Regions from separate parts of the Homo sapiens genome. Here regions 2, 3, 4, 5 and 6 are each linked to region 1. The links are contacts of gene promoters, found by promoter capture Hi-C in blood cells and fetal thymus (Javierre and others, 2016). All regions are on one chromosome and are shown on one strand. The core of a region is centred on a gene start or on the middle of the fragment in contact, and the rest is flanking DNA. Distances in the headings are between cores, read along the strand shown.

Region 1 (5,097 bases), core at 336-2,835:
TGGGCAGAGAAGAAATCCAAACTTGTTGAGCAAAAGAAATCAAGAACAAGCAAATACCAGAAGGGAACAGCCAAAAGTTTTTCAAAGTTATGGAGAACAGCAAGGAAAATGGTCCAAGAGTCCAGCAAAGAGTAATGAGGAGGGCCATGGCACATAGGGAGGAGTGGTGAAGACTGAAAAATACGTGAGCAGCCAAAGAAGGTGCCTAACAGTGAGGCAGCATCCTAGTTCTGGTTCAGCTAACTCACATTCCTCTCACCATGGGGTGAACCAATTCTCAGCTACCCTGGGGGGAAGGCTTGTTGAAGATGACGCCTGCAGAAGCTGACTGGCAGAGTAGTGGACTCTGGGATGGGATACCGGCAGGGGCATTTCCCCACCAGCTTCACCCTGGAGATAACTCCATGTTTCAGAACCTGTTACCTTTTTCCTCAAACATGAGCTATTTTTCCTAGTTTCCTTTGAAAGATCGGACCGAAAGTCAAGTTTTCGTGGTTTAGGCTCACCCTTCAAAACACCCGAAATAACTTTTGCAGAAATCTTCCTCATGTTCAAGTTTTCTTTCAAAATGAGCCTAACAGTTTCTTTGTCTAAATTTAACTCTTCAGCCATCATCCTCACGGTTAACTGCCTGTTTGAACAAACCAAGTCCTTGACCTTCTGGATATTGTCATCTGTTCGGTGGGTGACTGGACGCCCACTTCGGGCATCATCTCGAACATCTTCCCGTCCTTCTTTAAACCTTTTGTGCCAGTCAAAAACTCTGGCCCTTGACATGACTTCATCCCCATAAGCTTCTTTTAAAAGATGGTGGGTCTCACTTGCAGACTTGTTCAATTTCACGCAAAATTTGATACTAATCCTTTGTTCTAAATAGCGGTCACTCATTCTGGCACTGAACAACACAGGAACGTTTAACAGGCCACGACTGTAAGGGAAAGACGGACAGATCAATCTTTATAGGGCTGCAGGTGTAATCATATCGCTCTTCTTGCTCTTCTAGAAGCCTCGCCGGGAAAGAGTAATTGCTTTTATGAATTTTTGTCCCTCAGCTTCCAGTCGAGGCTGGGGAGATCCGTTCTGGGAAGCCAACAGTCGCTGCAAAGCTGGGAAAAATTAAATCGCCTACAACCACGTCTGCATCAAACCAGTGCACGCACATCTGCCGAGAGTTTGCCAGTCACCAAGGTCGCTCCGATTCCGCGGCCCTTAAGGAGTATATGGCGAATTCTGCAAGAAAGGCCTAAGTGGTGGCAAATTAAGCAAGCAAGAAGAGATGCATCGGTGATGTAACGTGCAAGCTCGCCCTAGATCTGCAGAAACCCGCGCACGCCAAACCTACCGGAGCAGCCCAGGAACCGCCTGCTCTAGCGTCCCGGGAGACAGGCGCGCATGCGCAATTCTCTCTCCCCGCGGATTAGACTGTGCGCAGTCGCACTGCGGCGGCGCGCGCCAGGTCCCGCCTCCGCCTCGCCACACCCCGGCAGGCGCGCTTCCTTGCGCGTGCCCGCCTGCTGAGAAGGCGGAAAGGAGGGGCGGGGGAGGAAGGCTGAGGGAAGAGAGGGCACCCCCGGGCGTCAGGGTGCATTGTGGGAAGGAGGCGGCAGCGTCTCGGGCGGGCGGGAGGTGCACCAGCGGCGGCGGCGGCGGTAAATCCTCCCGGCCGCTCACAGCACTGTGGAGCCGCGTCCCCAGCCCGGCCTCGGACCGCGGCACCCCTCCTGGCCCTCGCGGCTTCTAGCCCGCCCGCCCCTCCCCCGCGCGTCGGCCCTGCCGAGCCGGCCGGCCGGCCTGGCTCCCCTCCCCGGCCCCGACGGGCGGGCGGACTGCCCTGAGGAGGCGGGGAGGGGAGGGCTGGGCCGGCCGGCGGGCGGGCGACGATGCCGAACTTCTGCGCTGCCCCCAACTGCACGCGGAAGAGCACGCAGTCCGACTTGGCCTTCTTCAGGTTCCCGCGGGACCCTGCCAGGTAAGCGGCGGGCGCAGAGCGGGCGGCCCGGGCCCACCTTCGCGGTGAGCGCTGCCAGCCGCCGGCCCCTGGCGGGCTCCCGGGCTGGCTGAGAGGGGCGCAGGAGGCGGGCGCAGCGCACTGCCGTCGACCCCAGCGTTGGACCGAGATGGGGAGCCGGCCCCGAGCCGTGGGCGGGCGGGCGTCCGGGGACCTCGGAGCACGTGCGCTGGTGGGGGCTCTGCGCGGAGGACACCACCCCAAACGCGAGGGAGCTGGGGCGGCGCGCGGACGCGGGATGCTGTGGGTTCTCGCCGTGGCTCACTTGCTGTGTGACCTCGGGGGAGTCGCTTTCCTCTCTGGGCGTTAGTTTCCTTAGCTGTCAAAAGAGAGCAGGACTCTATGGTTGTGGCCACTGGGGCCTTTCCCTCTCCTTGCCACCACCCCCGGGACAGTGTTTCTGTTTTGAGTCCCGCTACCTTCTTTCATCTCATCGCAACTGCTTTCTCCTTCGGACTTGTCATTGCACGGTTCAGGATTCATTTTCTGGCTGTCACCGTTACTCATTTTCTCGCTTGGGTATTGTAGGGATAACAGAGGGTGTACGCGTGAGGGCGTGGAAATTGGTATTGGAACCTCTTCCTTCGGATAACCCCCACACACTGACATATTTAGGGAATGATAGCATAGGGACTGTGTTTGAAAGGCTGAGATGTTTCATAGGCCTGTCTTGTTGGTTCATTCATTTAAAATCAATGCCTACTATGTGCCGAGCGCAAATGTTAGGTGCTGGGAGTTCATGGGTGAATAAGGGTGTCACTGCTTGCAGAAAGCTCTCAGTCCAGTAAGGGAACAGGTGCAGCAACGGGCGACTATAATTTATGTTATTTATTAATTAGTTCAATTAATTATTGAAGGTCTACTTGTGTTGGCATTGTTGTGAGCAGTGGGGGTTACAGATGAACAAATCGAAGTCCTTGCTTTCATGAAGATTACATTCTAATGGGGGGGGAATAAACAAGTAAAATACGTAGTGTGTCGGATGATGATAAATACTGTGGAGAAAAATAAACAAAGGTTAGAGGGTAGGGGAATAAGTAGTATCAAGGGACGCACAATTGCTATTTTAAATACAGTGATTAGAGAAGGCCTCACTAAGAAGGTGAATTTGAGCAAAGACCAGGTGAAGGGGCCAGCCATGGAGATACCTTGGGCAGCAGCATTCCAAAGAAGGCAAAGACAGGGCAACCAGGAGTCCAGGGAGAGGGACTGGGAGAGAGGTGAGATGAGACCAGAAAGGTGTGTGTATGGTAGGGGCAAATTCTTTAGGTAGGACCTTGTAGGTCTTGGAAGGCACTATGGTTTTTATTATGAGTGAAATAGGAAGTCATTGAAGGGTTTAGAGCAGAGACTTAAATTTTAACAGGATCAGTGGCTGCTCATTAGATTGTGGGGAGGCAAAGGTGAAAGCCGGAAGACCAGTTAAAAGGCTGTTGTAATAATCCAGATTAATAGAGGAGGAGATGGTAAATTTGAGATATGGTTTGAAGGTGAAGCCAACATCATTTGCTAATGGTTTGGAGGTAGATTGTAAAAGAAAAAGAGAACTTAAGGACGACTTCAAGATTTTAAAAATCTATGTTGGCCAGGTTGGTCTTGAACTCCTGGCTTCAAGCAGTCCTCCTGTGTCGGTCTCCCAAAGTGCTAGAACAGGCTCTGAGCCACCGCGCCCAGCCGACTTCAAGATTTTTAACGTGAGCATTTGCTGAGATAGGGAAGACTGGGAAGAGCAGGTTTGGTAGAGGAATACTAGAAGTTTGGGTTTGAGAGACCTGATAGACATTCAAGAATAGATGTCTAGGCCGGGCATGGTGGCTCACACCTGTAATCCCAGCACTTTGGGAGGCCTAAGCAGGCGGATCACTTGAGGTCAGGAGTTCGAGACCAGCCTGGCCAACATAGGGAAACCCTGTCTCTATTAAAAAATACAAAAATTAGCTGAGCCCAGTGGTGCGTGCCTGTCCAGCTACTCAGGAGGCCAAGACGTGAGAATCGCTTGAACCCAGGAGGCAGAGGTTGCAGTGAGCCGAGATCGTGCCACTGCACTCCAGTCAGGGTGACAGAACAAGACTCCGTCTCAAGAAAGAAAGAATAGATGAAAAAAAAAAAAGAATAGATGTCTTTCTTCATACCATATACAGAAATGAACTCCAAATGGCCTATACTTTTATTGAGATCAAAGGCCTAAATATAAGAGCTATGTCATTAAACTTTTAGGAAAAAAATACAGATAAATCTTCATGACTTTAGATTTGGCAGCACATTCTTGTTTGTTTTTTGTTTTTTTTGAGAGTCTCACTCTGTTGCCCAGGCTGCAGTGCAGTGGCACAGTCTCAGCTCACTGCAACCTCTGCCACCGATGTTCACAAACTATTCTACTCACTCAGCCTCCCAGGTAGCTGGGATTGCAGGCATCCGCCACCATGCCTGGCTAATTTTTGTATTTTTTTTTAGTCAAGACGGGGTTTCGCCATGTTGGCCAGGCTGGTCTCGAACTCCTGATCTCAGGTGATCTGCCCGCCTTGGCCTCCCAAAGTGCTGGGATTACAGGTGTAAGCCACCGTGCTTGGCTGGCACCACATTCTTAGATATGACACCAAAATACATGCAGTAAAAAGAAAAATAGACTAATTGGACTTCATCAAAATTAAACTTTTGTGTATCAAAGAACATTACCAAGAAAGTGAAAAGAATGGAAGAAGGTACTTGCAAATAATACATTTGATCTGGGTCCAGTATCCAGAATATATAAAGAACTCTTACAATTCAGCAACAAAAAGACAACCCAATTTTAAAATAGGCAAAGGACTTCTTTCTTTAAACAGAAGATATAAATGGCTAAAAAGCACATGAAAAGATGCTGAGCATCACTCGTTATTAGAGAAGTTCAAATCAAAACCACAAGTGGCAGTTAGATGTAGAATTACTGTGTGTCCCAGCAATTCCATTCCTAGGCGTATATCCAAAGAATTGCAAACTGATATTCAAAAAAACCAAATGTACACACATTCATAGCAGCACTATTCGCAATAGTCAAAAGGTAGAAACAAGCCACGTTTATCAGTGCTTGAATGGATAAACAAAATGTA
Region 2 (5,097 bases), core at 612-3,111, 980 kb after region 1:
CACATGCATGCACCACCACACCCTTTTTTATTTTTTGTAGAGCGGGGGTTTCCCCATGTTGCCCCGGCTGATCTTGAATTCCTGAGCTTAAGTGATCCTACGCCTGGCCTTAAAATCTAGCTTTTAAGAAGCAATTACATTCACTAAGCCCAGATTCACTGTTCCGTCTGTCCCCTTAAGTTCATAAAGGATAAACCTGCCGGGCGCGGTGGCTCACGCCTGTAATCCCAGCACTTTGGGAGGCTGAGGCAGGCGGATCACGAGGTCAGGAGATCCAGACCGTCCTGGCTAACACGGTGAAACCCCAACTCTACTAAAAACACAAAAAATTAGCAAGGTATGGTGGCGGGCGCCTATAGTCCCAGCTACTCGGGAGGCTGACGCAGGAGAATGGCGTGAACCCGGGAGGCGGAGCTTGCAGTGAGCCGAGATCGCGCCACTGCACTCCAGCTTTGGGGACAGAGCAAGACTCCGTCTCAAAAAAATAAATAAATAAATAAACCAACTTAGCATTTATAACAATTATAGGTGATGGCCAGTCAAATGAGTTTTACCTGGTGGCTAAGATAATGATTTCTGTCCTGGTTGGTGTAACTCGCACCTCAACTCCAGAGTAGCCATCTTCAGCCAGCTCCCGAGTAAGAAACTCATTCAGTTCAGCTTTGAAGATGCCATCAGCGACAAACTAATCCAAACAAAGCAAAGTTCAAAATTAGGAGATCGGTGTAGGCTCACTTTCGCCTGAGCCAGTCTAGTCTTATTAGTCAATGCATCCCTCACCAAAACTAAATACCTCCAACCAATGGTTCCAAACCCTTGTTCCAACAGGAGTGCAGCAACCCTTCTCAGACAAATGCCTCTAAGTCATCTTTAGGAAATTACTTCAACCAGGGCTCTTTAAACTGTGCCACAGAACGCAGCACAGAGTAGGCCACCTGGGCAAAGAGAACATCCCCAAGTCAGACTCGTCATCATCTCTTCATCGAAGGGTTTAAAACAGTTCCACATGCAAAACAAGAAACTGCTCTAATGGCCTATTTACACTTCATTCAGCACAGCAAAGACACTGTACTTGTCACTGTTAAGGAATAGATAGTAGACTTAACATATAAGCTCTCTCACTTGTAGACACAACCTGCACCGTCTAAAGAATCCCAGCCATGTTATTTGGCTTTACGGTACCAACAGAGCTGGCAAATCCTAACTCTCGAGAAGTTGTGGATTTAATTTTGACATCGAAGTGTATATACGAAATGACAAACTGTCTATTTTTAAAGCTAATGATTTTTACACAGTTCTATCCCATGTAATGACAAGGCGTTAAATCCGAGGCAGCTTCCTCCCGGGGTCCCCAGACGGAGCAAGCAACCGTCAGCAACCCTTCAAGTTGAGGTCCTGGGGCCAGCGGACTGTACCCAGAAACGACCAGTTAAGGCAAGAATACACTGCTGCCTTCTCTTCCCAAAACCACGGGATAAGACATGAGGGAAATGACACACGCCCTCAAAATACCACGTTTACTAATTCCGTTGACCGACAAATGCTCACAAACGCCTTCTCCGGGACAGAAGGGGCGCCTGGTGCCCATCTCTCTGCGCTTCACTTGGAACCCGGCCACACAGCGCCCTCCTGGCTGGGGCCTCTCACTCAATCCACCGCCATCCGCGGCCCGCAGGAACGCCAGGAAGCCTAGGCCGCTTCCAGGGCAGGCCACGGAGCTGCAGGCCTCGCGGTGGCACCCCGAGAAGCCCTCGACCCGCGCGGCGCCGTCGTTCTCCGAACCCAGTCCCCAGAGGCTCACCTTCCTCTTCTTGGATATTTGCACTGCCATCTTGCCGCCGCGCTCCGCTGAAAGGAAAGGAAGTGGCTCGCGGGCGGAAGTGAGTATAAAGGGCGCGAGCGACGACGGAGGGCTGCGCTGCGTGCACGCCTGTGGGTGCTCATGGGAAATGTAGTTTTTACGTAAGTAAGGCGTCCAGGGAAAGAAGAATGTAGGCAGGAACAGGAAAGGGGCTTCATCCAGCAGGACTTCTAAACTTCAGGGGACCTTAGAGTTCAATTCTCATAGTTTCAAAACAAGCAATGTGAGGTGCAGAGGTGGAAATTACAGGTATAAGTTCACACAGCAAGAGAGATTAACCAGCGTGGAACTCTGGCCCCTACACTTTCAGGGTGGACACTGTAATGAAAATCTGCTGAAATCCCTCAGTGAAACTCATTTAAGACTCCTCTTTGGGAGGCCAAGGCGGGCGGATTACTTGAGGTCAGGAGTTCGAGATTAGCCTGGCGAACATGGTGAAACCCCGTCTCTACTAAAAATAGAAAAATTAGCTGGGAGTGGTGTCGGGCACCTGTAATCCCAGCTACTCGGGAGGCTGAGGTGGGAGGATTGCTTGGACCTGGGAGATGGAGGTTGCAGTGGGCCAAGATCCTACCACTGCACTCTAGCCTGGACCACAGAGTGAGACTCTGTCTCAAACAAACAAACAAACAAACAAACAAAACAACTCATGTCCCCCAGTCTGTACCCATTTCCTCCATTCCAAATGATAATAATAAAACCTGATACTTACTAAGTGTCCTAGGGACTGCGTTCTGTGTCCTTTATGTTGTTCTCATTTACCCCACCTTACTTTCATCAAGTCCATTACAATTTGTAACAGAAGTCCCAGAAGGTCCCATGGGCCCGCCCTTCCTTCCTTCCTTCCTTCCTTCCTCTCTCTTTCTCTCTCTCTTTCTCTCCTTTCTTTCTTTTCTCTCCGGTTGCCCAAGCTGGAGTGCAGTAGTACGATCTCAGCTCCCTGCAACCTCCACTTCCCAGGTTCAAGTGATTCTTCTGCCTTGGCCTCCTGAGTAGCTGGGATTACAGGTGCACACCACCACACCCAGCTAATTTTTGTATTTTTAGTAGAGATGAAGTTTCACTATGTTGGCCAGGCTGGTCTTGAACTCCTGACCTCAAGTGATCCACCTGCCTTAGCCTCCCAGAGTGCTGGGATTACAGGCATGAGCCACCGTGCCTGGCCTTCTTTTTCAATTAAAAAAAATTCTAGCCAGGTGCAGTGGCTCAGGCCTGTAATCTTAGCACTTTGGGAGGCCAAGGCAAGTGGATAGCTTGAGGCCAGAAGTTTGAGACCAGTCTGGGCAACAGAATGAGACACCCTCATCTCTATGAAAAGTGAAAAAAGAAAATTATCCAGGTGTGGTGGTGTGTGCCTGTAGTCCCAGCTACTCTGGAGGGAGATGTGAGAGGATTGCTTGAGTACAGGAGGTCTAGGCTGCAGTGAGCCGTGATTGTGCCACTGCACTCAGCCCGGGCAACAGAGTGAGACTCAGTCTAAAAAAAATAAAAAATTAAAAATGTCCCTTCATTTTTTAATGAAGCTTACAGAACAGTTGAAAAAACTGTACGTGTATGCATCACCAAGCTGAGGGGGAATTGAGAATGATGCTACAATTAATATTTTGCTGTTGCTTTATCGTGGATCTACTCATCCCTGTAGCCACCCACCAATACATCTTTTGAGGCATTTCAAAGTAAGTTGCAGACATTGGTAAACTTTACCCCTAAACACTTCAATAACAGTTTTATTTTATTTATTTATTTATTTTTGAGACGAAGTCTTACTCTGTTGCCTAAGCTGGAGTGCAGTGGTGCGATCGCCGCTCACCGTAACCTCCACCTCCCGGGTTCAAGCGATTCTCCTGCCTCAGCCTCCTGAGTAGCTGGGACTACAGGCAAGCACCGCCATGTCCAGCTAATTTTCATATTTTTAGTAGAGATAGGGTTTCACTATGTTGGCCAGGCTTGTCTTGAACTCCTAACCTTGTGATCCGCCCACCTCGGCCTCCAAAAGTGCTGGGATTACAGGCGTGAGCCACCGCACCCAGCCAACAGTTTTATTTTAAGTTTGAATAGTTTTCTTCATTTAAAAGTCAGGGTATTTCTCTCTAAAACTATTTTAGGTTTTTCTTAAGGATATAGAAATATCTAGCAAAATAGTGAACCCACATTTCTTCATGGGCAGTGCTCTCCTTTCCTGTTACACAAAAAGAGTCTTTCCAAGGTGCCACACTCCCTGGCAGCACCACTCAGTTATTTTCTGGTCCTAGAAGCCATTGGAGTGTTTAACTCCAGCTCTAAAACAACTCTGATGTAAAGTGACCTGTCCTATAATCACGGAATTAACAGAGTTCTGTGGTTGCTGAGCAGAGGGACCAGGGAAGATGACAAAAAGTGGATGGGCGCGGTGGCTCATGCCTGTAATCCCAGCACTTTGGGAGGCCGAGGCAGGTGGATCACCTGAGGTCGTGAGTTTGAGACCAGCCTGGCCAGCATAGTGAAACCCCATCTCTACTAAAAATACAAAAATTAGCCTAGTGTGGTGGTGCACGCCTGTAATCCCAGCTACTTGGGAGGCTGAGGCATGAGAGTCACTTGAACCCGAGAGGTGGAATTGCAGTAAGCCATGGTCAAAGCCACTGCCCTCCAGTCTGGGTGACAGAGCGAGACCCCGTCTCAAAGAAAAAAAAAGAAAAGAAAGGAAAAGAAGTGGATGAACCAAAGAACCAAAGAGATGGTAGCTGTGGATCTATCTTTTTTTTTTTTTTTGAGACAAAGTTTCCCTTTGTTGTCCAGGCTAGAGTGCAGTAGCGCAATCTCGGCTCACTGCAACCTCTGCCTCCTGGGTTCAAGCGATTCTCCTGCCTCAACCTCCCGAGTAGCTGGGATTACAGGCATGCACCACCACTGGCTAATTTTTGTGTTTTTAGTAGAGACAGGGTCTCACCATGTTGGCCAGGCTGGTCTCGAACTCCTGACCTCAGATGATCCACCCACCTCGGCCTCCCAAAGTGCTGGGATTACAGGCGTGAAGCACTGTGCCCAGCAGAAGCCCTAGTTTCTGACTTCAGTTGTGAATGCTTGGCGACAATCCTTACCAAGATGAGGAACCTAGGAATAAGTTGTTTTTCTTCCCCCCCCCACCCCCCATCCATCTGTTATCTCTCTCTGCTCTTCATGTGCCTCTTCATCCAACTCCTTGGTCTGTCTATAGAGTGGGGCCAGGTTGCTGAAAACATGAGCCTGGTAAATCC
Region 3 (5,097 bases), core at 446-2,945, 860 kb after region 1:
CGCCGCCGTACCGGTCCGTGGTTGCAGGGTCGCTCCGCGCCTTTCCGTCAGTGAGGGTCGGAACCCCAGCTCCAGGGCTAGCGCAGTGTGGCCCCAGGCCCTCGCCTCCGGTGCACGGGACCCCGGACCCCCCCAGCCTCTGGCTTCACGAGACCCCAACCTTCAGTTGGAACAGCTTGGAACAGCGCGAGCGCCCGGGAAGCCCTGGCCGGGTCGTGCGCTCGGTGAGGGGTCCTAGGCGGGCAGGACAGTCGGACCGAACCGCCGGGCTGGTGCCGCGAGCCCAGGCTGTCACCTTCGTCCCGCCTCAGGTGAGGGGTTCAGCGCCTGCCCCGAAGATAACACAGGGGTCCCCTTCTGTCCCGGCGGCCTGCGAGAGCCAAGGCTGCAGGTGAGAGCCCCGGATGCGCGGCAGGAGCGGTCCCCGACCCCATCGCGGCAGCGCGGGGGCCAGCGGAGGGAGTGTCAGGGGAAACAAGCAGAGGCTGGAACTGGCTGGGAGGGGGCGCGGGAAGGGGAGGGGAAAGAAAGAAAACGGGTACTTATTGAGCGCCCATTGTGTGCGGGTTCGCGCCCTGCCCCGCCCCGCCCCGCCTAAGCCTCACTGCTACTCCTGAAATAGGTGTTGTGTATTATTATCGGCGCTTGCAGATGGAGAAACTGAGGCTTAACGGGGCTGAGTGACCTCCTTTCACTGCGGGGAGGAGACTGGGGAAGCGGGAGAGGATAGAGGGGGAAGAGGCAGAGCACTTGAGCGCTGATGCTAAAGCTGAGGAAGTGGCTTCTTCTTGCCTCCCGCTCCCTGGCCATGTCACCCGCGAGGAAAGGTGACTCAGAGTTGAGGGTAGAGGTGGGAAGCTTCCCAGTTCCAAAGCTTCTCTCCCTGTGGGCCCAGGATGTGAGAGCAGCAGCTCCTGGCCCTTGTGTGTCAGACTCCAGGGTCTCTAAGACACTCTGGAGGTCCTGAGACGTGCTTATCTGTTGGTGAATTCACTGCAGAGATCCCCAAGTAAGGGTCTGTCAGAGCTGGAGATGTAGCCCCTCTGGGGTGGCTGGAGATGTGGCTCACGTGACTCACCTCCCTCACATTACTAATGGGGACACTGAGGCCCACCCGAAGGGAGTGCCAGTTGTCCGATCCTAAAGCCAGTGAGTCCTTGAGCCACAAGTAGACTTGAGAAAACCTTCCTGAGCATCCTTCAAGGTATGCACACTCCTCCCCAGTTAGGATCTTCTGGATAGGTGGCTGGGGCTTTCCCTATCGCTGATGTGAGATCTGGGCGACCATGTATGAGGCTGTGGTGAGAATTAGTGTGGTTGGTTGCTGGGGCCCCGAGGAATGCCTGCAACCGCATTGCCTTTGGCCCAAATGGAAGGTCCAACCTCATTTTCTTCTGGGCAGGGGAACCTGCAGGATACCTCTGCCCAGGAAGGAAGGGACCTGCTCAAGGTCTCAAGGCTGGGGGCTCCCAGGGCTGGGGCACAGTCCCAGGTGTCTTTATTCCCAGGCAGGGGATGCTTCTGCTGCCCCCAAGGCATGTAGGGAGAGGGGTGTTGTGAAAGAGCCCTTGGCATGGACTCTGTGGGCTCTTATTCTGTGTGGGGACGGGGAGGGGATATGGCCTTGGTCTGGGCCCTGTGGCCTTGGCTAGGCCTAGTTAACCCTAGAGATGCCCAACTCCCTGGAGTCAAGGGGAAACCACCTTGGAAAGCCCCTGGAAGGTGGAGGAGCGTGGTGAGAGGTCTGTGGAAGTCTGAAGCTCAATCCCTGGGGGTGGAAGGGTTAGGGGATCCCAAAAGACAAGGTGACTGAGGGGCTTGGGATTCCCTCTACCCCAGACCTCTGTCTGGGGCTTCAAATCCTCGCAATAATCTCTATGTCTAAACAAAGCTCTTTGATGAAATAATTTCACACCTGTGATCTCCTTTCATGACGTGGAGAGAGCCTGGAACCTAGAGTGAAGCAGAGGAGGGTTGCAGAGTCACTTGTGACCTCTTGATGCATCCATGGTTCCAAGTGCCACTTTAAAATAGGTTATGGCAGGCTGTGTGTTACCTGCTCAGTTAGTGGGGCCATCACATCTGGCTGTCAAGTGCTAAGGGGCATGTTGTACTTGCCAAGACTGGGGAGGTTATTAATGGCCCAGTCTCGTGTGGGCAACTGAAGCTCAGAGAGGTAAAACCACTTCCCCAGGGCCTTTGAGTTTGCTTGTAGAACTGTTTGAGTGCCAGCTGCATACCAGGTGCCCTGGAAGTTACCCAGACGGGCTAAGCGGCAGCCTCGAGCCACAGTAACTGGTGAATCCCAGATAGTGGTAAATCAGACAGACCAGGTGGGCGTGAGTCTACTGTGCCTCCCACTAGCTGAGTGGCACTGAGCAAATCACTTCATCCCTCTGAGCCTATAAAATTAGAATACCTCCTTTAGCAGGTTGTTGCGAGGATTAAATGAGCTACAAAGATGCAGTGCCTGGCCAAATATCCGTTTCCATCCCTATGAAGAAAAGGAAGCTTGAAGTTTGACCAGGAAGTCTGGGGAAATTCTCAGACTTGTCTTCGATTAGAACGCAGGATATGGTTGCAGGGCAGGCTCAGAGACCTGAATTTGCTCAGCTCAGGCTGCTGTGTGGGTCACACTCCCCTAGTCTCATAGCCTCTAGAATCAGTCTGCTTGGGGACACCGGCAAGGGGCTCTGGATTCTTACCCCCTCCCTTGGCTTCCTGCTGGCAGGGCTGTGGTGCCTGGAGCTGGTGTCCATTCCCTCGGGCCCATTGTCTGACCTCCCTAGGCACCAAGGTGCAGTGAATAATTAATACTCCCCTCAGCTGGGGGCAGGCTCAGGGAAATAGCTCTATGTTCAGTGAGCTTCTGAACCCTACCAGAGGAGGTGGGGGCTCCTGTCTGTGCTGTTAGCAGTCTTGGATATGGGGGGGCAGGCAGGATAGGACAGGGAGAAAGTGTCATCTGGCCCCCAACAGGAGAGAGCTGGGGTTGATGATGTCCTGTCTCTTCTGTTGGGGGCCAGATGGTCCCACAGGCAACACTGGGAACCAAGCTAGCTGAGCTAGGATCAAGTGGGCCTCTGATTCCAGAGAGGTGGTGACGGGGAGGAGTAAGGGGGAGGGTACAGGGCAGAAAGGGGTGGAGGGGAGGCCCTTGAGGACTGGAGTAACCAGGAAGGCTTTGTCAGGGAGGTGGCTGTCTGGGCAGGAGCTAGAGGAAACTTGCTGCAAAGACGGGGGGTCCTGACATCCCTCCAAGAAGGAATCCTGGCTGTGCCACCGCCTCACTGAGAGCATGGGAAAGACACATGATCCCATCAGGCCTCCATTTCCCCCTTTGTGAAATGACGGTTGTGATGTCCACTTCTCAAGGCTGTTAAGGATCATCTTGAGGTCCCATGTGTGAAACACACGGCACTTTAGGCACTCAACAAGGGGGTGCCTCATCATGAGTGTGAGCTAGTGGGCTAGTGGCGGGGCAGGTGGGATAGCGTGGTAAGCCGAGAGGTAGGGAGAACTTGGGGCGAGGAGGATGGCTTGGTGGGGTTAGTGAGGGGTGAATGCCCATATAGGAGAGGGCCTTGAATGTTAGACAGAACTCACATTTCAGAAAGCTTAATGGAGCCCCCATTTAGAAGCCTCTGTGGCTCCTTACGGCCTGTAAGATGAAGACCAGGCCCTAGTTATGGCATTCAGGTCCTTGGTCACCTTAGCCTCTGCCCGGCCTTCTGGCTCATTGCTCTGCACTGTCTCCTAAACACACCACATGTGGCCCCATCACAGCCCCTTTGTTTGTGGTTCCTCCCATCAGAACCGCCATCCCTGCCTCTGCTCCACTTACCTCCCCACCTGTCAAGACCTGACTGAGGTCATAAATTCCCTCAGAAACATTCCTGGATTACCCAACCCTCTGGTCATGCCCCCTCTGAATCTTTAACATTCAGCAGTAATAGTAAAAAATAATACCTACTATCCATAACATTTTGCAGTTTGTAAAATGTATCCACACAATACTACAGTGATGATATCAACAACAGCTGATATCTTGAGTACTTACTATGAGCCAGACAATGTGCTAAATGTTTTATAGACACTCTTGTTCACACAAACTCCCTGAGGTAGCTACTGTTATCCCCTAGAAACTGGGGCTCAGAGAGGTACCTGATCTTGCCCGAGGTCACACAGCTCAAAGGTAGGGAGCAGGGAGCCAAGCTGCATCTGTTTGAATTGTAAATCTGTGCTTAGAAGATGTCCTGTCTCCTCACCTCCACCCAAGTACCTTGAAAGCATACTTTGTGTGTAAAAAGCCTGGACAAGGTTTTTTCTCAAGGCTAAGGAAGGGCAGTGTTGGACTGAGCATGGGGCCCAGGAAGGACCTGGGCCCTAGGCCGTGCACAGGCTGGCTGGTTGTCTGTGTGACCTGGGGTGAGTCGGCCCCTCTCTGGGGTCCCGTGTGTCCATGTCTATGGGGAGCAGGGTGGGTTCTGAGCTCCCCTGTAGCTCCAGCTTTCTACATCGTCTTTCGTGACCCTGGAGGGAGGAGGAGGAGACCACAGCACCAGGGCCAGAGGATGTGGTATGACGGGCAGCTGTGATTTTTGGCCTGGCCACTGTCTGGGCCAGCAGGCTGTGTGGGTAGCTGCCTCGCCCAAAGGAGGGTGGTGGCCTGAGCTGCAGGCAGCATGGTCATTAGCTGGCAGAGGAGACCCTGTGATTGGGAACTGGCTGGGCCAGGCCAGGCCAAGTTGGCGGGACTGGAGGCAGGCTGGCCGGGCCACAGCGGGGTCACTGGCAGGGCAGCCAGCTTCTCCTCCCTTTGCCCCCTTTGGGGTGGTGGCAAACACACACTGGGCACCAGAGCTTTGTAGGCCAAGGCTTACCCTTTCTCCTGCTGTGACCATGGGAAAGAGCAGTAAGGAGTTCAACCAGGTCCAAAGATGCTGCCTGCTATAAGCTTCCAGTACTCCTCCCATGCAGGTGGGATCCAAGCCTCCTCTGCTGCTGATTCATGGCCCTCTGCACACTGACTGTGGTCTGTGGATTGGGGTTCTGCTTGGTCTGCTTCCCTTGCTGGCTTGTCAAAACTAGATTCTA
Region 4 (2,500 bases), core at 1-2,500, 610 kb after region 1:
TGCCACAGGGCCCTTTCCAGAAAATCTTCTCGCAGGTCCATAACCCCTGCGCCGTGGCACTCACCCCATCTCCCAGACCCCTCGCGCGACAGCGCAGGTCCTCCGTGAGAGCGCTGGCTCCGGTCAGCCTCGGCCTGACGCTCGCCGCGCAGGACCCCGGAGTAGGCGGCTATGAGGGTCTTCATGGCTGAAGCCCGCCCAGTCACGGCCCCGCGGGAAGCCGCTTCACCCCGCGCCCCTGGCCCATGCCCCGGCCCCCGGGGCCAGGGCTTCGCGCAGAGCACAGGGGTCCCGGGACGGCGTCGAGGCTGGGCGGCTAGGACACCTGGAGCTGCGGCCGGCGGCCAGTGGTGGCGCGAGAGAAACAGCCTAGACCCCAGCAGAGGCGGCAGCCGCGGCGCTGGCGTCCCGGAGCGCAACACTTTATCACCTCACAACGGGGCAGGCGCCGACGCGGCGGGCGGGGCGGGCCGTTCTAAGCCGCCGCCCGCGCCACTTGCTTGTGGGGGAACCGCACCTGAGGCTCTGCTTGGCGCGGGCCCGGGGCTGGCCAGCAGCCTGCTCCGCGCGGATCCGGGGAATGCGTGAGAGGAGAGCAGCTCTGAGCCCTGCTTCCAAGGGGCGCGCCCGGTTATTCCCCTCGCTCCCTCAGTCCGACCCCGGGCGCTCCCCCGCGGAGATTGGTACGGCCCGGCGGCCAGTACCCGGGCGGGGAAAACCAAGCACGTGCGGTGCAGGCAGAGGGCGTGCAGGGGGTCGGGCCTTTACTCTTTAGGAGGGGCTGTCTTTTGGCAGCAAAGATGCGAAGGTCCCGCTTTTGGTCACTGGTATCAGGATTAGTTAGGTTAGGGCTGGGTATCTCAACCACCCAAACTGCTTCTGGCTTTCCATCTCTTTATTAAGAAACCTCACAGAGCACCTATACCCTGCTGGGTGCTGGGGACCCAGCCAGATCAGCCCAGGTTCTGCCCTTGGGATGCTCACGCTGGGGGGCAGCAGAGACAGCCGCACACAGTCACTGGTGACAACGGCCGGGACAAGCGAGAAACCAGGGGGCTATGGAACCACAGAGTAGAGAAGACTCTGCCCTGGGCTGGGGGAGTGGGGGCGCTGGTGCACTTCCCAGAGAGGTTGGTGCACAGCAGGTTTGGAATCAGATAGACTAGGAGTCCAGTTCTTGCCCTGCCTCTCTTGAGCCTCAGTTTCCATATCTGTAAAATGGGAATAATAATTATTATTTTTGTGAGGTACTTTGAGAAGTAAATGAGATAAGGTATAAAAAGAGCCTAGGTAGTGTCTGGCACATAGAAAGCATTCCAGAATGGTTTGCCCATTAATGAATAGGAATTTTGCAGATGGAAGGTGTGAGGGCAAAGCAGAAAGATAGGCATAAAGTGTTAGAAAAGCCAGCATGTTTGGGGCAGGGCTGGGGGCCCTGGAGTGGCTGGAGCCCAGGCAACTGTGGAAAATGAGGCTGAAGTGAGAGGCGCGGGTGCTTGAACTGAGAGAGGTTTGGGAGTGCCACTCTTGAGATATTGGGGGGGAGCCGGGTCTTGGGAGAGCTTTAGTAGGGAAATGGCTGGTCAGGTGGGTTTTAAGTGTCCTTAGCCATGGTATGGGAAATGGACAGGAGAGGCTGTAGGTCAGGAGGGCAGTGGGGAGGCTGTAGGGGCGGGGGATCCATGTGAGAGAGGATGAGCCTCAAGGCACGGCAGTGGTAGAGGGAATGGAGGGAAGGCCTGATCTAGGGAAGAGCATAGGAAGCGAGATCCACCAGCATGTGGTGGAGCGACTTGTTGGATGGAGGCTCAGGGAACGAGTGGGGACAACAAGCATGTCAGTGATAAGACAGATTTCTTAGGCATAGCTGGAGCGAGATAGCTGTGGGGTCACAGCATAAGAGGAGAGGAATTCCCTGCCTTTGTGGTCTTTATCATGTTCTCACAGGGGGAGAGGAGAATGACAGAAGTTACAGGCACAGGGCAGCAGGTAATAGATGCCTCTGGTGCAACCTAGAGATGCTTCCATTTGTTCAGCCCTCTCAAGGCCACAGGAGTAAATCTCTCAACCGTGTTACTGGGCCCCAAGGCCCGAATTGGCCAAGAGTAGAAAGAAAAGCATTCCAGGCAGAGCTCCCAGCATGTGGTGAGGCCATGAGGCTGGAAAGATCTTAGTGCCTTTTAGGAAACTGAGGGTAGGCTAGTGGCATGCCACATGTGGGGGATGGGGGGAGACATGGGGACTGGTAAGTGCAAAGGCTGGGAGGTAGAAACAGGTGTGGTTTGTTTTTGGGCAAAGAGGAGTGAAGCCAGGAGGATACTGAAGGTGCCAGTAAATCCTGGCATCCTCTCCTCAGAGAGGGTGCTCTTGGAGGCAAGACTCCTGCTGGCCTGGAAGATCCCAGGTCAGTCTGTGGCTCGTGCCTGCTCCAGAAGGGTCTCCTGTGGAGGAGGCCTGGGCTGGAACTCATGGCCCACCCACTCACCCTGGGCAAGTCAGT
Region 5 (5,097 bases), core at 2,598-5,097, 600 kb after region 1:
TTGAAGCTGCAGTGAGCCATGATCGCGCCACTACACTGCAACCTGGGCAACAGAGGGAATCTCTGTCTCAAAAGTAAAAAAAAAAAAACCCTAACAGCACACTTGGAAGACTTGCCTGGGGGCTGGCTTCCACTGGTCACCATGTTCTGGGCCTGTAGGTCATAAGAGAGACTAATCTAGCCTGGCACAGAAAGGAAGGAGAGCTTGTGCCATGCCTGCTTTATCTCATGGCTCGCCACTAGCTGCCCTCAGCAGGGCTTCTCTCTTTCCATTTTTTACCCAACCTTTAAGGCCTATCTCAGACCTCAGCTCTTCAAGAAGTGTTCCCCAATATCATACTATCTACATATCATCTCTTGCCTGTGAATTTCCCACACTGGGTGGGGAGGCATCTTCTTTGGTCCTTGGCATTCAGCACAAGGGCAAGGGCAGCAGGTACTCATGTTTGGTGGGAGAAGCATGGACTCCTTCTAGGACTTTTTCCACTGCCCAAGAAGGGAGGCCAACCCTTGCTGTGTGCCCATTCCCTGGTGGTCCCAGGTGCTGTAGGCTGCCTGGCTCTGGATGTCATGCTCTCTTCTCACCATGTTGAGCCTCCTTTGGTTTCCCATGGGAGAAGATAAGGCTGGATGTAGACTCTCCATGAGCCTAAAGGGAGGGAAATGGTAGCCCCTTGTTGCCCCCCAATCTAGCCCTGTTCTAGACTCCTGAGCCAGCCTCTCCCCAGGGTAGCTAAAAACAGGGTACAACTCTCTTGTTGGGAGGAACAGTGAATACAGAGTGACGAGATGTCCAATTTTTCAGGACCAGCTTAGGGGTGTGACATCGCAGAAGGGAAGACAAGTTTCTAGGGAAGCATGTGCAGCCTACAAGAGCCTGTTAAAAGCAAACTGTGAAAAGCTTACGGTAGCTTGGTGAATAGCTATGTCTAAAGGCTGCCTACAAAGTCATACTTACTGTTCAGCAGTCTGCCTGATTCCCTTTCTTGGGCCTGAAAAGGGAAGACTCTAGCCCCCCAGACTCTACAGGCATCCAGGCTCCTCTAGTGGCATCCTCTAGGTGGATGCTCCAGGTGGGCCAGATAGGGACGATGAGGTTTAGGCTATGGTCTGAGCATCCTGGAAACCTAGCTTCCAGAAATCTCTAACTCTCTTGAGGGGTAAAAGGACCAGAGGGGGCTGAGCTCCAGGCCCCACTGCTTAGAGGGCTGGTCTCTCTGGGAAGGGGGGTAACCCTACCCACTTGTCCTTACTCTGCTGCTGAGGCAGCCTGGATGGAGAAGAAGAGGCCTGATGGGGTATCCAGAGACTGAATTCTAGCCTGGCCTTTCTCAGCTGGGGGCTCCCTCCCCTCCCCTATGTGTCCACAGCCCTCTCTGAAACCACTCACCATCCCTTTCATCATCTGCCTCCCTCATTGGACTCCCACTAACAGACAGCCCTTCAGCCCGAGCTCCTTGGGAGCAGAAACCAGGTCAGATTAATCTCTCCAGCCCCAGAAACCAAACACAGGAAGAGCAAAAGGATGAACTAAATCCACCAAATGACCTTCCTTTCTCAGAGCCTAATCCTTGTCCTCTGAACAACAGGCTCTGGTTCCATGCTCTTAGGTTGTGGGGCTGCAGTAAAAACCACTGTTGCTGAGCTCATGAGAAGCTTAGAAGGCCCTGCTTTGCCCCACACATGGAAGGCTCAGGACCACTTTCACACATCACCTGCTTCCTGCACATTATGGTGGCCTACAAAGACACTTGTGATACAAAATTCTGAAGCCACGAGGCCTGTGGTGCAGGGCAGCCTGTGGATGCTCAATGGCAGGGAAGGCAGCAGTGTGGCCTGGTGAAGAGCATGGACTCTGAGACCAAACAGACCTGGAGCCTTGGCCCTGCCACTTGCTGGCCAAGCCCCATTCCTAAGCCTTAATTTCCTTACAGGGTATTGGGAAAATTAAATATGATGTTTGAACTTACTCAGCCTGACACACAATATCCATGGACTTGGATGGGGAAACAAATGACATCTAAATTTTCACTTATCTCTTATGGAAATGTGGCATTTCCTTCACTTACCAATATAATAAATCACAGAATTATCAGCAGTACTTATGACACAAATAAATAACAAAGGTATTTTCATATAACTTTGTAGCAGTTGCAGATATCTTAAAAAAAATCATTTCTTCTCATCACTACTTAAGAACTATAGTAATTATTACATGTGCTGCTAGATCTTTTTATTTACTGTAATAAAAAGGCACCTGTTACTACATGTCTAATCAGCTTTTTTAATGTATAGATATTTATATTTTATTATCAGTAGTTTCCTTTGAAATCCAATGCACCTTGTATTAAATACTCTAAAACACTGAGAAAGGGCATAGGCCTCATCAAAATGACAGAGGGTTCCATGGCACAAAGTGGTGAAAAATCTCTGGTCCAGGGAGAGACCAACAGGGCCACCACGGTCTTTGCTTGCCAGGTGAGCTTCTGCCAGCAGGTTTGAGAGGCAGAGGGAAGGAGTGGCTGGGGCTGCTGAGGGCAGTAATTAGCAGTAGCTCAGGAGATCTGCCTGTCCAACGAGGCCAGGTTCCCACCTATGCGAGGCGAGGCGAGGTGAGGCCAGGCGAGGGTGTTGAGAAGATGCTGGGCCGGTTTCTGGGCTGTGGTTGGGTCTGATCAATTATTAACCTATAGCCTGGGGCCAGTCCCCATCACATGCTGCGTGAGCTGGTGTTCTACAAGCTGCTCAGCTCCCTACCAGCCAGGCCCAGACCCATTAAGACAGGGATAGTGGTAGCTTTGGGGTGCAACAGGGAACAAAGAGAGCTGGTGTAGCAGACTAGGCAGGGGGTCTGGGAGGCTGGAGTCCCTGGGTTCTTGTCCTGGTCCCAGTACTTTCTTCTCATGTGACCCCAAGTAAGGCTCCATCCTCGCCAGGCCTCCACTTCCTTTTTTAACAAGAAGGGGTCACACTGTGCTCACTACTCTAGGATTCTAGTAAGTGGCCAAATGCAAGCCATGTTAGGGGTCTGAGTCCTGAGGGAGACTGTTTAGTTTGCTCAGTTCTTCCAACCAGTGTTTGTCTTCTTGAGGCTACCTGTCCCTGTAAGACTTTGAGGACAGCTATGGCCCTTCTCCCCAGAAAAATGTGCACATACTCATATATAATCTTGCATCTAATTTTAAGGGTTCATGGATCCCCCCACTCAAAGCCCGTTCTTGGGCCTAAAGGTGAAGACTGGCTGTTTCAGCCCCAGTTCACTAATTCTGGGCTTCCAGGAATGTGGGCTCCCTGGGGAATGCACTGAGTTTCTGCTAAAATCCCAACTCTGCCATTTAATGAGCTTCACAGTAGCAGGTAGTTGATGAACCTTTGTGAATTTGCATTTTCTCACCTGTGAAGTTCTATCCCTTGGCCCTGCAAACATGGTCTCAGTCTCAGAGCGCCCCATGCACCTGCCTGAAGGACAGCTGCTCAGCACTGACATGGTAAGTCCTGATGATCCCCTACCAGCCTATACAGTCCCGAAGAGTGGGTTGCCCAGAGGGACTGGCTCACAGGCACTGGAATGCACTCTGTGATGCTCTGGAGCAGGTTCATCTGCCTTGACGTGCTGAGGAAGCTACCTGCTATGCTGAGAGCACAGGGGTCTGGGGAAAAACAAGAGGCTTCTTCCCTCCCCTCAGACATTCGTGTTGTCCTGCCCCTGGCCTGGATGGCAACCTAAGGAGTGAGGGTATCTAGCCAGACCTGCAGAAAAAGCAACCAAAGCACCGATGTGGGCTGTGCTGAGAGATAGCAGGGAGCAGGCCTCGGGAAGCACCTGGGGAATGTGCTCAGCTGAGGATGGGTGTGGGCTGGGAGTGGGGTCTGAGGGCACCTCCCGATGATTCCCATGTAATGGGGGCCCATCATGACCAGGCCCTGTGCCAGGTGCTCTCATTTCTTATCTTCAATCCTCAAAAAAGCCATGTGAAGCAGGCACTTTCCTCACACTCAAAATGAGGAAACTAACACTCAGAGAGCTCAAATAACCTGTGTAAGGTCACAGAGCTTGTCTGCAGGAGATTCAGGACTTAAACCTGGCACCAAACCACCTTAAGGCAAAGTAACATACCTGCTGGAAAATGTCTGTTGGTGGGCAGGGTGGCATTGTGGGAAAGGCACAGGCTTTGGGGGTCCTGTAGACAGGGATTCAAATCTGTGTGACCTTGGGCAAGTTACCTATCTTCTCTAAGACTTGAGGTTTCCCATCTGTAAATGGGAACTATCACACCACCTCCCACTGAATCTTGCTGAATCTTCATGCATGCTGAGGGGTAGAGCACTTGATCTGGGACCCAAAAGATAGATGTGGAAAGGTGCTGTGGGGCAGCATGTGTAAGAGTTACTCTTATTCCCTCACCCCTGTAGAGCAGGGCTCCTGCTCTACCTCTTTTGGGGAAGTGGACACTGCCTGCCCACCTGCCCTCCCTCTAAGGCCCAGCTTACCCAGTACAAGGAAGGACAGGACCCACTGGAGCACTGAGATGACCTGTAGCTGCTTTTCCACCTTGGACCTATTGAGCCAGGTGACAGAGAAGAGGTCCTGGAGGGCGGAGAGGATGCTGGATCCAGTGCCTACAGCAGAGGGAAGATGTCAGTCCACTGTCACCCTTCTCTCCAGTCATGGGGTCCCCAGTACAAACCTCACCTCCCACAGGTACCCTTCTAGATATGAGAAGAGCATCAGCTATAGAATCAGACAGACCTGGGTTCAGATCCTAGCCCTCCACCTCATGGCTTTGTAACTCTGGGCTGTCTGCATGCTCCCCTGTGCCCTGGTTTCTATAGATACACAATGGGAATGGTATCGCACTCGGGGTCATTTTGGAGACCACATGAAGTATCTAAAGAGGCTAGTCCAAGGGCTAGGCCTTGGGAAGTCTCTCATAATTGCCAGTTCTCTCCCATCCCCTCCACCCCAGTCAAACTCCTGTCCCTTATCTGAATCTAGTACAAATATTTAATTTTGCTATCTGTCTGTGAGGCCAAGGACAGAGGTTCAACATCCAATTTGCAATGGTTTTTTTTCTCCAAGTGTACTTTGAGCATCCCC
Region 6 (5,097 bases), core at 1,343-3,842, 560 kb after region 1:
CAACGTGATGAAACCCCATCTCTACTAAAATTACAAAAATTAGCCGAGCGTGCTGGCAGGCGCCTGTAATCCCAACTACTAAGGAGGCTGAGACAGGAGAATCGCTTGAACCCAGGAGGTGGAGGTTGCAGTGAGCCGAGATCACACCACTGTACTCCAGCCTGGGTGACAAGAGCAAAACTCCATCTCAAAAAAAAAAAAGAAACAACTTCTCAACACACCCAGCCAAGAACAGTGGAACTGTTCACAAGACCCAGGTTCTGTTTATTTCTCTGCCACAAGCAGGAACAAGACACAAGACAGATCTGTTAAACTAATACTCTTTACTAAATACTCCAGGGCAAGAATAAATAGCTAGAACAAGTCTGTGGCCAGGCAAATAGCTTCACCTCAGAGGGCTTCAGGTTTTGCATCTGCAAAATTCCATGATTCAAAATTCATGTTTCCATCTTAAAATAAGATGGAAAACAAGGTTATGTGATACTAAATCAAGAAGGTATACTATGAATTGTAAAATTCCAATGTCAAGTTTCCATTCTGTGTGTACTCGTCTACTTTTATAATCTAAGGAGGCAACTGCTAAAATACTGTACAAGGCATTGAAAAAATTTAACAATATAAGACTTTACTGGCCAGGCACAGTGGCTCATGCCTGCAATCCCAGCACTTTGGGAGGTCGAGGCAGGTGGATCACCTGAGGTCAGGAGTTCGAGATCAGTCTGGCCAATGTGGTGAAACCCGTCTCTACTAAAAATACAAAAATTAGCCAGGTGGGGTGGTGGGCACCCCAGCTACTCGGGAGGCTACTCGGGAGGCTGAGGCAGGAGAATTACTTGAACCTGGGAGGCAGAGGTTGCAGTGAGCTGAGATCGTGCCATTGCACTCCATTCTGGGCGACAACAGGGTAACGCTGTCTCAAAAAAAAAAAAAAGACATTACTTATGTCATTAAACCTAAAACAAAGCATAAACCTAAAATGTTTCAACCTCTCTCATAAGACAGATGTCTTTTTCTAAAACACCTTCAGTTTGTAGCTGTACACATTCCAGTACGTTGAAAATGACAAACTTGGCCGGGCGCGCTGGCTCACGCCTGTAATCCCAGCACATTGGGAGGCCGAGGCAGGCGTATCATGAAGTCAGGAGATCGAGACCATCCTGGCTAACACGGTGAAACCCCATCTCTACTAAAAATACAAAAAATTAGCCGGGCGTGGTGGCAGGCGCCTGTAGTCCCAGCTACTAGGGAGGCTGAGGCAGGAGAATGGCGTGAACCCGGGAGGCGGAGCTTGCAGTGAGCCGAGATCGTGCCACTGCACTCCAGCCTGGGCGACAGAGTGAGACTCCGCCTCAAAAAAAAAAAAAAAAAAAAAATGACAAACTTCTTTTTCTCCCCAGCAGTAACATGTCTGACAGGTAAAAATACACAGCTTATCAAAAATACACATTTGGAAACTATGAAAATCTAATTTTTTTTCATTCTACCATACGTTTCACTTCAGGCCCAACTTATTAGTTTCAATTCTGCTTGTGCTCTATTTCTAGTCAGTTTCACTTCTGAATTTTCTACCACAAAGAATTGTGATCCTGTAGAGACATTTTAAAGTAAACACTAAATAAACATAGCTTTTCCTTTCAAAAAAAAAAAAACTCATTTTCACAGGAAAAAGAGAAACAAACAAAAAACATAAATTCCTAATAGCATTTTGTCACATAAAAATAATGATTTCAAGATGCTGATATCTTAAGTTTCTGAGGCTTCCTCATATCATTTTATTTATAAGAGCCAAACCAGCACAAAAAATTGCCATCATTTTACTTTTTAGATACTCAACTATATATTACATTTTTTCTTCGAGTTACAAGGGGCTTAGTAAATATTTGCAGAAGGAATGAATGTACACGGCATGGTAGTGCATTGCGTGAGGCACATGTTCCTGATAAGATGAACGGCCTTGCCAATAAAGCTGATTTTTTTTTTAGTAATAGAAAAATGATTAAATTAGATTAGCAAAAGTAGGGTATCCAAATAAACATAAACACAGAAAGGGAAAATATTTATCCTATACAGCAAAATCAAGCTTTAGATCTACTTTTCTGCTTCTATCATGTTTTTTTGCATGGGTTTCAATACCACTGAATCCAATCTTTCCTTGTTCTCTTTAGGCTGTAAAGTTCTTCAAGGGAAAGACTCATAAACAAAAAAACTGTACATGAGTTCCTACTAAATCATCAGCACAGTGTTAGGCACAAGTGCTGTAGGAAATAAAATATAAAGCCTGATGGTCCCAAACTCTGAGGTACTTAAAACTTTTCACCAGAACCCTGCAAAGAATGGGTGTCTAGGGCAAACAGGAAACACCTAGATTGTAGTCCCTTTGTTGACACTCTGTGTGACTTTAAGTTACCGGCCCAGTGCAGTCGCTCATGCCTGTAATACCAATGCTTTGGGAGGCCAAGGCGGGAGGATTGCTCGAAGCCAGGAGGTAGAGACCAGCCTGGGCAATATAGCAAGACTCTGTCTCTACAAAAATTAAAATTAAAAAATGAACCAGGCATGGTGGTGTGCACCTGTGGTCCCAGCTACTTGGGAGGCTGAGGCACATAATTTGAGTCCAGGAGTTAGAGGCTGAAATGAGCCATGATTTAATCTCCCATACAGAAAAATTCCAAATAATTTATGTAGATACTCTACCCTCAAGAAGGGGGAGCACAGATCTCACTCAAGTGTGGACTACACATAGTGACTTCCTTCCAAAGACTACAGTATAGAGGGAAGGGGAGGAAGAGTAACCTTATAGCAGAGAAACCTGACAAACACTACCTGTGGCCCTTCAATTTACAATAATAAATATATACTTTGGTCTTTGTACACAGTTCCTGGTGCAGAGCTCTTAAAACCTCTGTCATTCCCTGGGTGCCATAGGGGTACTAGGAGAATCTTTACTTTTCATATTTGGTCTTTGACCCCAGTTCCAGACACAACGCCTAGTCCCTCAGCGTTTCCTAGGTGAGGAACATCCTTTGTTCTAATGAGACAACTCTTGGTGAGCTCCTAGAAGGAGAATGGTCACCAGAAAGACCAGGCCATGATCAGAAGCTTGGAACTTTCAGCCCCACTCCCCATCCTCCAGGAAGGGGAGAGGGGCTGAAGACTGACTTAATAATTGATCATGCCTACATGATGAAGCCTCCATACAAATCACAGAACTACAGGTTTTGGAGAGTTTCTGGGTTGCTGAACATGTGGAGGGTGGAGCTGCCATGAGAGGGCATGAAAGCTCTGGGCCACTTCCCCCATACTGTTCCCTATGATATCTTCCATCTGGCTGCTCGTCTGTATCCTGTGTAATATTGTTTATTTAAAAAAAAAAAAAAAACAGTAAGTGCAAGCAAGGTGCTTTCTTGAGTTCCGTGAGCTGCTCTAGTAAATGACTGAGCCTGAGGAGGGGAACATAGGAACCCCCAATTTATAGCCAGTCGGTAAGAAGTTCCAGAGACCCAGACTTACGTCTGGCATGTGAAGTAGGGGACAGTTTTATGGGTCTGAGCCTTTAACTTGTGGAATATGATACTAACTCTAAGGAGATTGTGGCAGAATTGAATTGAATCATAGGACACCATATTGGTGTTCACTGGAGGATCGCTTGGTGTGTGGGGAAAAAGCCCCACACATCTAATGTCAGAAGGGTTATGCTGATAGTATAACAGTGTAATAGGAGAAAACAGCTAGTTTGCCTTTCCTATCATATGCTACCACAGCTGGTGATGATAAAAGTTAGAATCAACAGTGATAAATCAGCCAGGCATGGTGGCTCATGCCTGTAATACCAGCACTTTGGGAGGCCAAGGTGGGTGGATCACCTGAGGTCAGGAGTTCAAGACCAGCCTGGCCAACATGGTGAAACCCCGTCCTACTGAAAATAGAAGAATTAGCTGGGCATGGTGGCGGGTGCCTGTAATCCCAGCTACTCAGGAGGTTGAGGCAGAAGAATTGCTTGAACCTGAGAGGTAGAGGTTGCAGTGAGCTGACATTGTGCCATTGCACTCCAGCCTGGGCAACAAGAGCGAAACTCTGTCTCAAAAAAAAAAAAAAAAAAAACAGTGATAAATCATGTTAATAATATGTACGTAATATATGAAAATGGCACTTTACCTCTTAAGTCTTGCTCCCAAAACACCACCACCCTAGTCTAATCATAAGAAAAAACATCAGACTAATTCCAGAAGAGTGGCATCCTACAAAACACCTGACCAATACTCAAAACTGTCAAGGCCATCAAAAACAAGGAAAGTCTGAGGAACTGCCACAGCTAAGAGGAGGCAAGAGACAGGACAACTAAATACAATGTGGTATCCAGACAGGATCCTGGCACGGAAGAAGGACATCAGGTAAAAACTAAGGGTTGGCTGGGTGTGGTGGCTCATGCTGTAATCTCAACACTGCTTTGGTTGGCCAAGGCAGGAGGATCTCTTGAGCCCAAGAGTTTGAGACCAGAGTGAGACTCATTTCTACGAAAAATTTTCAAATTAGCTGGGCGTGGAGGCACATGCCATTGTAGTCTCAGCTACTTGCGGGGGTGCTGAGGTGGGAGGATCACTTGACCCCAGGAAGTCAAGGCTGCAGTGAGCCATGATCATGCCACTGCACTTTAGCCTGGGCAACAGAGTGAGACCCCGTCTCAAAACAAATTAGCAAACAAACAAAGGACCCATCAAGAGATGAATGAATAAACAAAATGTAGTATATACATACAACGGAATACCATCTGCCTTAAAAAAGGAATGAAATTCTAACATACCCTGCAACATGGATGAACCTTGAAAACATTGCAAAGTGAAATAAGCCAAACATAAAAGGACAAATACTGTATAATGCCACTTATATGAGGTACCCAGAATAGTGAAGTTCATAGAGACAGAAAGTAGAACAGAATTTACCAGGGGCTGGTAGGAGGCGAGAATGGGGAGTTGTTTTCTGTTTGGGATGATGTAAACATTCTGGAAATATACAGTGATGATGGTTGTATAACATTAAGTATGTTTTTAATGCCACTATATTGTATACTTAAAAATTATTTAAACAGCAAATTTTATG

What was found. Contacts are between HindIII fragments. The CHiCAGO score rates a contact against its expected background, and 5 or more counts as called.
Region 2: a contact is called between the fragment with the promoter of RPS3 here and the fragment with the promoter of THAP12 in region 1, in 2 of 17 cell types (neutrophils and erythroblasts). The highest score is 8.7, in neutrophils.
Region 3: a fragment that was not itself captured here is called in contact with the fragment with the promoter of THAP12 in region 1 in 1 of 17 cell types (fetal thymus); the score reaches 5.1 in fetal thymus.
Region 4: a fragment that was not itself captured here is called in contact with the fragment with the promoter of THAP12 in region 1 in 2 of 17 cell types (neutrophils and fetal thymus); the score reaches 5.9 in neutrophils.
Region 5: a fragment that was not itself captured here is called in contact with the fragment with the promoter of THAP12 in region 1 in 1 of 17 cell types (neutrophils); the score reaches 5.4 in neutrophils.
Region 6: a contact is called between a fragment that was not itself captured here and the fragment with the promoter of THAP12 in region 1, in 3 of 17 cell types (naive CD8 T cells, naive CD4 T cells and non-activated CD4 T cells). The highest score is 6.2, in naive CD8 T cells.

The regions. Positions count from the first base shown.
Region 1 is chr11:76,377,620-76,382,716 of GRCh38, reverse strand. It overlaps THAP12 (THAP domain containing 12), which reads left to right and starts at 1,585. Exons shown (of 5, transcript NM_004705.4): 1 at 1,585-1,969. The coding sequence starts at 1,881. GVQW3 (GVQW motif containing 3) reads right to left here and starts at 1,394. Exons shown (of 2, transcript NM_001347885.2): 1 at 424-1,394. The coding sequence starts at 888. RefSeq lists a silencer at 1,307-2,236 and an enhancer at 1,879-2,380. The HindIII fragment of the contact is 4,414 bases long and covers 797-5,097 here.
Region 2 is chr11:75,396,282-75,401,378 of GRCh38, reverse strand. RPS3 (ribosomal protein S3) reads right to left here and starts at 1,861. Exons shown (of 7, transcript NM_001005.5): 1 at 1,802-1,861; 2 at 555-685. The coding sequence starts at 1,831. It overlaps SNORD15A (small nucleolar RNA, C/D box 15A), which reads right to left and starts at 988; the gene lies at 841-988. RefSeq lists enhancers at 435-1,298, 1,525-1,884. The HindIII fragment of the contact is 4,256 bases long and covers 1-3,386 here.
Region 3 is chr11:75,520,504-75,525,600 of GRCh38, reverse strand. It overlaps GDPD5 (glycerophosphodiester phosphodiesterase domain containing 5), which reads left to right. Exons shown (of 17, transcript NM_030792.8): 1 at 1-391. It overlaps LOC105369389 (a long non-coding RNA gene), which reads right to left. Exons shown (of 6, transcript XR_007062784.1): 6 at 3,744-5,097. Among named protein-coding and RNA genes, the nearest start is that of GDPD5, 2.9 kb to the left of the region's middle. RefSeq lists enhancers at 1-309, 2,237-2,286. The HindIII fragment of the contact is 1,637 bases long and covers 877-2,513 here.
Region 4 is chr11:75,766,677-75,769,176 of GRCh38, reverse strand. DGAT2 (diacylglycerol O-acyltransferase 2) reads right to left here and starts at 399. Exons shown (of 8, transcript NM_032564.5): 1 at 65-399. The coding sequence starts at 185. DGAT2-DT (DGAT2 divergent transcript) reads left to right here and starts at 530. Exons shown (of 4, transcript NR_046090.1): 1 at 530-683. RefSeq lists silencers at 80-319, 400-509 and enhancers at 596-1,096, 2,403-2,500. The HindIII fragment of the contact is 4,152 bases long and covers 1-2,500 here.
Region 5 is chr11:75,784,140-75,789,236 of GRCh38, reverse strand. DGAT2 (diacylglycerol O-acyltransferase 2) reads right to left here. Exons shown (of 8, transcript NM_032564.5): 2 at 4,491-4,619. Among named protein-coding and RNA genes, the nearest start is that of DGAT2, 18 kb to the right of the region's middle. RefSeq lists a silencer at 2,499-2,793. The HindIII fragment of the contact is 4,380 bases long and covers 1,658-5,097 here.
Region 6 is chr11:75,820,946-75,826,042 of GRCh38, reverse strand. The region is part of intron 1 of UVRAG (UV radiation resistance associated); the gene reads right to left. Among named protein-coding and RNA genes, the nearest start is that of UVRAG, 8.3 kb to the right of the region's middle. RefSeq lists an enhancer at 1,548-1,627. The HindIII fragment of the contact is 1,019 bases long and covers 2,083-3,101 here.